2 separate regions of the Homo sapiens genome follow, and region 1 is linked to region 2. The links are contacts of gene promoters, found by promoter capture Hi-C in blood cells and fetal thymus (Javierre and others, 2016). All regions are on one chromosome and are shown on one strand. Each heading gives the region's core, a stretch centred on a gene start or on the middle of the fragment in contact. The rest is flanking DNA. Distances are from core to core; before and after follow the strand shown. Region 1 overlaps BMPR2 (bone morphogenetic protein receptor type 2). Region 2 holds the start of ICA1L (islet cell autoantigen 1 like).

Evidence for each region. Contacts are between HindIII fragments. The CHiCAGO score rates a contact against its expected background, and 5 or more counts as called.
Region 1: a fragment that was not itself captured here is called in contact with the fragment with the promoter of ICA1L in region 2 in 3 of 17 cell types (total CD4 T cells, total B cells and M0 macrophages); the score reaches 7.5 in total CD4 T cells.

What each region holds. Positions count from the first base shown.
Region 1 is chr2:202,564,857-202,567,556 of GRCh38, forward strand. BMPR2 (bone morphogenetic protein receptor type 2) reads left to right here. Exons shown (of 13, transcript NM_001204.7): 13 at 1-2,700. Among named protein-coding and RNA genes, the nearest start is that of FAM117B, 69 kb to the right of the region's middle. The HindIII fragment of the contact is 1,309 bases long and covers 764-2,072 here.
Region 2 is chr2:202,870,377-202,873,076 of GRCh38, forward strand. It overlaps ICA1L (islet cell autoantigen 1 like), which reads right to left and starts at 1,390. Exons shown (of 13, transcript NM_001288622.3): 1 at 1,243-1,390. RefSeq lists silencers at 933-1,422, 1,463-1,512, 1,573-1,702. The HindIII fragment of the contact is 15,476 bases long and covers 1,236-2,700 here.

The DNA.
Region 1 (2,700 bases), core at 168-2,667, 310 kb before region 2:
TAACACGATGAAACCTCATCTCTACTAAAAATACAAATAATTAGCCAGGCATGGTGGCACGCGCCTGTAGTCCCAGCTACTCGGGAGGCAGAGACAGGAGAATCGTTTGCACCCGGGAGGCGGAGGTTGTTGCAGTGAGCCGAGATCGCGCCAATGCACTCCAGCCTGGGCTACAGAGTGAGACTCCATCTCAAAAAAAAACAAAAAAAATCACCTCATAGTTTATGTCTGACTTACTCCAAACCTCAGTTATCTGATTTGTAGTCTGTGTCAGGAAAGTTTTCTTCATATCTATTCTGTCTCCCTCCTCTTTGATTTTAAATTTTTTTCTTTTACCCAGTAGGACAAAAAAGAGCAGTTGGTCATCATCCCCAATATTCTTAGTCTTCAGTATGCTTCAGGCCTCTCAATGAACACTTAAGTCTCAATTCTTCAGACAAAATTGCTTAAGCTCTTCTCCTCAGTCCTATTTTAATGACTTTATATTTAAGAATATAGAATTATATTTTCTTTTATATTCAAATTCATTACTCCAGTTAAGTAATAGTTTGATAGTTTGATAGAATCGAGAGTTAAGATGTTTCTATTTGAAAGTGGATTCAACCATCAGACCACCAGCAAATCGGCACTTAATTTTTGTGTTATCTAACATTTTCTATTGTGGAATTTTATGATTTTATATTCTCATTAGTTATAACTAAAAAGCCATGCACACAGAATTGTATATCATTTTGCCATTAAAATTTTTTAACATATTGCAGCAAGCTTAGTTTTATGATTGAGCCACAACCTTTTACATATTTTTTGTATGAAATATTAAACACTAAATGCAAGATTAACTTTCAAAAGCAAACCCTACATTAATCAGGTATTATCTATGGACATTTTTGTAGACCACTTTTGAAATACTTATTATTTTGCAACATAGACTGGACTATACAACTTTCATTTAACTTTTAGGTGACTGATTTAAGTTGAGTGTGCATATAGAGAAAAACCTAGAAATTTATCTCATGGCAGATACATTTGAAAGTACTTCAGAAGAATTTATGCTGTATATTAAAACTAGGCTCAAAATAAATCTATCGTATCTTTAAAAGTCCAATTCTGTTATTACTGTGATGTTTGTAGTGTTACTATTAAACATTGTGAACATACACATTTTTAAAACAACTTGAAACCCATTTTAAAATCTGGGTAAGAGAGAAGGAATCTTCAGAACAAAATCACATCATTAGGGTGTCCAGTTTATGATTGAATTTTTAAGCAAATTACTGTATTTGAAACTACAACTTGATTTGGTTTTCAGTTTTAAAAGGCAACATGTGGGTTTTATCCATTTTATTTATACCTTTAGATTTCAGAAACATCTTCATGTTTTAGATGCATTCTACAGACATCATGTTACTTAAAAACTCAGGGCCCCTTTCATCCCTTTGTACACTGAAAAAGTTCAATTGTTAGCAAGTAAGCAATTAGATCCAGTTGAATATTTAAAGTGTTTGTTGCACAGTTCATTTAATGTTTCATCTTATTTGACTTTTTCACATAGATATAATATCAGATTTCATTAATTATAAAAAGTTGCCCAGTTCTGTAATTACTGAACAGAGGGAATGACTCAACTAATTGGCTACATGTTGCAACAAATTTAGGCCTTTAGAGTTGAAGCACTGACTTAAAACGACTTACATTTCTGTTCTTTGGTCAAATGACCATACATGATATGGGACAAATTGTTTCATTTTGTTTGTTTTTTAATAAGGGAACTTGGTAAAGTAGTTCCTGTCAGATAGGATTTTCTCAAGAGACAATTTAACGTTATAAAGCCTTCTAAAAGTGAACTAAATATTTTATAACTTTAGTAATAGCTTGGATGGTTTTGAGAAAATAACCTGTATTTATCACATTGTCAAACAGAATTTTTCTTTGAATCAGACAAGTTCAAGCTCTAAATTGATGTGCTATATACTTAAAATCCTAGGAAGTTATCTGTAACCAGTCTCTTGTCTCAGGCTCTTCACCTTGTTACCAATCCTCGTAAGTATGTAAAGGAAACATATTTTTAAAGAAGCTTAACAGTAAGAAAAAATTACTAAAAGATGCAATTCAAAGATAGGTCCCAGTTTAACACTGAATTGCTTGACTTCTGTGGCTTTTCTTTTTCTGGCCACATTTATTTATTTAAGCAATTTTTGTATGCCTTGTTATTTCATTTCCATAGAGATTATATTGTATCAGTGTTTATGTAAGCTGGAATCATCCTCAGTTTTTTGCTGATAATTTTTCAAATAAAGATACATGGATAATTGTAAAATACACTAACTCTTAGGGTGTTGTAGTAGCTGAAACATGGAGATGCGTAGCTGTCATGCTTTTTCTGAATGGACAGGAGAAACATAAGCTACGGAGTATTCACTTCTGAGGATGCTTTTCCGGAAAAAGAAAGGCTAGAAAATACTCGCACTTCCTCAGAACCCTCTTTCTTGTTAACGGGTATCTTTTGTTGGTGTGTTTTGCTCTTACATTACAGATAGACTATCATATATGACTTTATGAATAATTTCAGTTATTTTGCTTTTGTATAAGCTGTCTGAAGCCTTGCTATGCTGTATAAGTTGTGTTTGATGGATCAGTGTGAGTATAAAATAAAGCAAATCACTTTTCTTTTGTATTATCTATGGATGCCACTATGAAAGC
Region 2 (2,700 bases), core at 140-2,639:
AACACTGCCTTCCACATAGCTGTTTCAACGACTAGATAAACAATCATTTTGAACTATTAAATAAAGAGATTTCAAAGAATACTGGGTATGATAGGCACAGATAACAAATACTAAACGATTTAAAATTTTGGTCACATAAAAATACATACATACCATTCGGAGATGTTTACTCGGCCAGTAAATGTATAATTAACTCCTACTAAAGGATGAGGCACCTGTGGCTATTCCATAAATACTGATGTGAAGATGATTAAAGTAATATCGTCTTACAGTACGTCGCCTGAGTCAGAACCAAATAAATCAATACATAAATACTTTTGGGAAAAATCAAAACCATGGAAAAATGTTACCTTCCCAACAATCTATTTTACAGAGACCCATAGTTTATAACAGCTTTTATGCTGTGTGCATCAAGATCATCTATTACACGAAAAATGATTCCACCCCCTCTACTGGCAACGCCCCAGCATCGCGGGTGAGCTGCCAGGATGGACTCCCCGCTTTCCCCTCTCCGTCTTCCTTAGAGCATCAGGTATCTGACCACTGACATCACCTGGGCACCTGACCAGCTGACGCGCGTTTCCAGGAGCCATATCTGTGCCGTGGGGTCGGGTTGCCGGCCTAAGGAGCAGGATCTGTGCGCGGAGCCCCTCGCGGGCCCGTGCATTCTGCAGTTCAGCTCAAACTGCACATTTACTATGTTTTGTTTTTATCCATCGGTTGCCAATTAGTTTCTAAGGAAGACATTCCCATTACAAAATAATAGCGAAATAAAAATAAGCACCACGTTAAAAAGAGGTCAGCAGGGAAGCACCTGAAGGCTGTTCGGGTGATCCGCCGCCGCCTCTATTAGGAGCGACCTCCACCGCCGAGGGAAATCACCCAAACGAGCCCCAGGCTGCCGCGCTCCTTCACTACAGCGAGCGTGGCCGGGAGGCGCCCTTCCGCCGCAGGGGACCCAGCCACGCCAGAAACCGCTCCTTGCGGGTTTTGCCTGGGGGGAGGCCGGAAGAACCCCGAGCAGGGCCTCGCCTGGAAGAAGGCCGCAGGCAGCGGCCGGGGTCCCCCAGAGAACCGAGGAGGCCAGCAAGGCCCCGAGAAGCCGCGCGCGCGCGCGTGTGGCCGGAGCCTCCCGCCGCGCCCCCGCCTCCCGGCGTCGCCATGGGAACCCGGGATTTGGTCTCCGGGCCTGACCGCCGCCTGAGGGGGAATAGGGGCGGACAGGAGGCAGCAGAAGCTTACCGGCGCCGCTCTTCCGCCTCCTCGGGTCGCGTTCGGCCGTACGGTGATCCGTCCCGGCACCCGTTCCGGCCACCGCCCGCGAGCCCCGCGCCGACTCCCGGCCCTCCGGCAGCCAGTGCCCCTCCGCACCAGTGCGTGGAGGTGTCAGGCTCCCGCTGCGGGAGGCGGGAGATTTAAACCGCGCGACCTGGCGTCCGCGTTCGCCCCCCTCGGGCGCCGGCCTGACCCCGCCACCGGCCCGACTCGGGATCGGAGCATCTCTCGGTCTGCTCTTGAATGAACTCGGGGACCCTCTCTATTCCTCCTTTCCCGATTTCCTCTTTACTTAATAAAGTGAAATGACAAACACCAAACCGGTCAGAACATTACGAGGAGCTGAGTGTGAGCTCTCTGAGGCGTGGGGAAGTGGAAGGCATTGGCCCGGGGCCCTCCCGGCTCCCTCCGAGCACCCCCACCCCCGGACCTGCCGGGCCTTCTGGGGCGGCCCCTTAGCACCAGTGCTCCTTAGGCGGAAAGCGTTCGCCCGCTGTATTTAACTCCCGTGTTAAAGGTTTAAAGAGGTCTAAGTTAACAACCGTTCATAACCAATCTCAAATGCACATATCCATATCCATAATGTTTATGATGAATCTTCAAGAGTAAAAGGTAAAACCGGATCCTGAAAGTCTCAGGAAAAAAACAAAAAGGAAGGCAAAACTATTTACTACTAGTAGGAGATAATTTAATAAATTCAAACTTCATTCTTTTTAAAGGTGACTCCAAAACTTAAAAGAACTTTCCTAAAACAGCAGAATACGAATTATTAATTACAACTGCGACACATAGGCTAGCAAAGAATTAAAAGGTTAACACTCGAGGTGATAATTAAAATCTGTATGATGACAAAGATGGGGTGAGTCTAGAATTTATTTTATTTTATTTTATTTGAGACGGAGTCTCGCTCTGTCGCCCAGGCCGGAGTACAGTGGCGCGATCTCGGCTCACTGCAAGCTCCGCCTCCCGGGTTCACGCCATTCTCCTGCCTCAGCCTCCCGAATAGCTGGGACTACAGGCGCCTGCCACCACGCCTGGCTAAGTTTTTTGTATTTTTAGTAGAGTCGGGGTTTCACCGTGTTAGCCAGGATGGTCTCGATCTCCTGACCTCGTGATCCGCCCGCCTCGGCCTCCCAAAGTGCTGAGATTACAGGCATGAGCCACCGCGCCCGGCCGAGGTTCTGGAATATTAACAGTACAAAATACTCACCTTAACCTGGAAATTATACTTTTAGAATAGGAAAAGTGGCAAGCTACAGAGGGTTAATTTGGACTGAAAACATTAAATGTCTTTAGACTTTTACCCTGAGATATTTGGATTTCAAGGAATAGGCAAATACCTGAGATTATGTGCAAAATTTTGTTTGTTTTTTTGAGGAGTCTACAGCTTTCCTCAGAAGGGTAAAAATTAGCGTTTGGCAAACA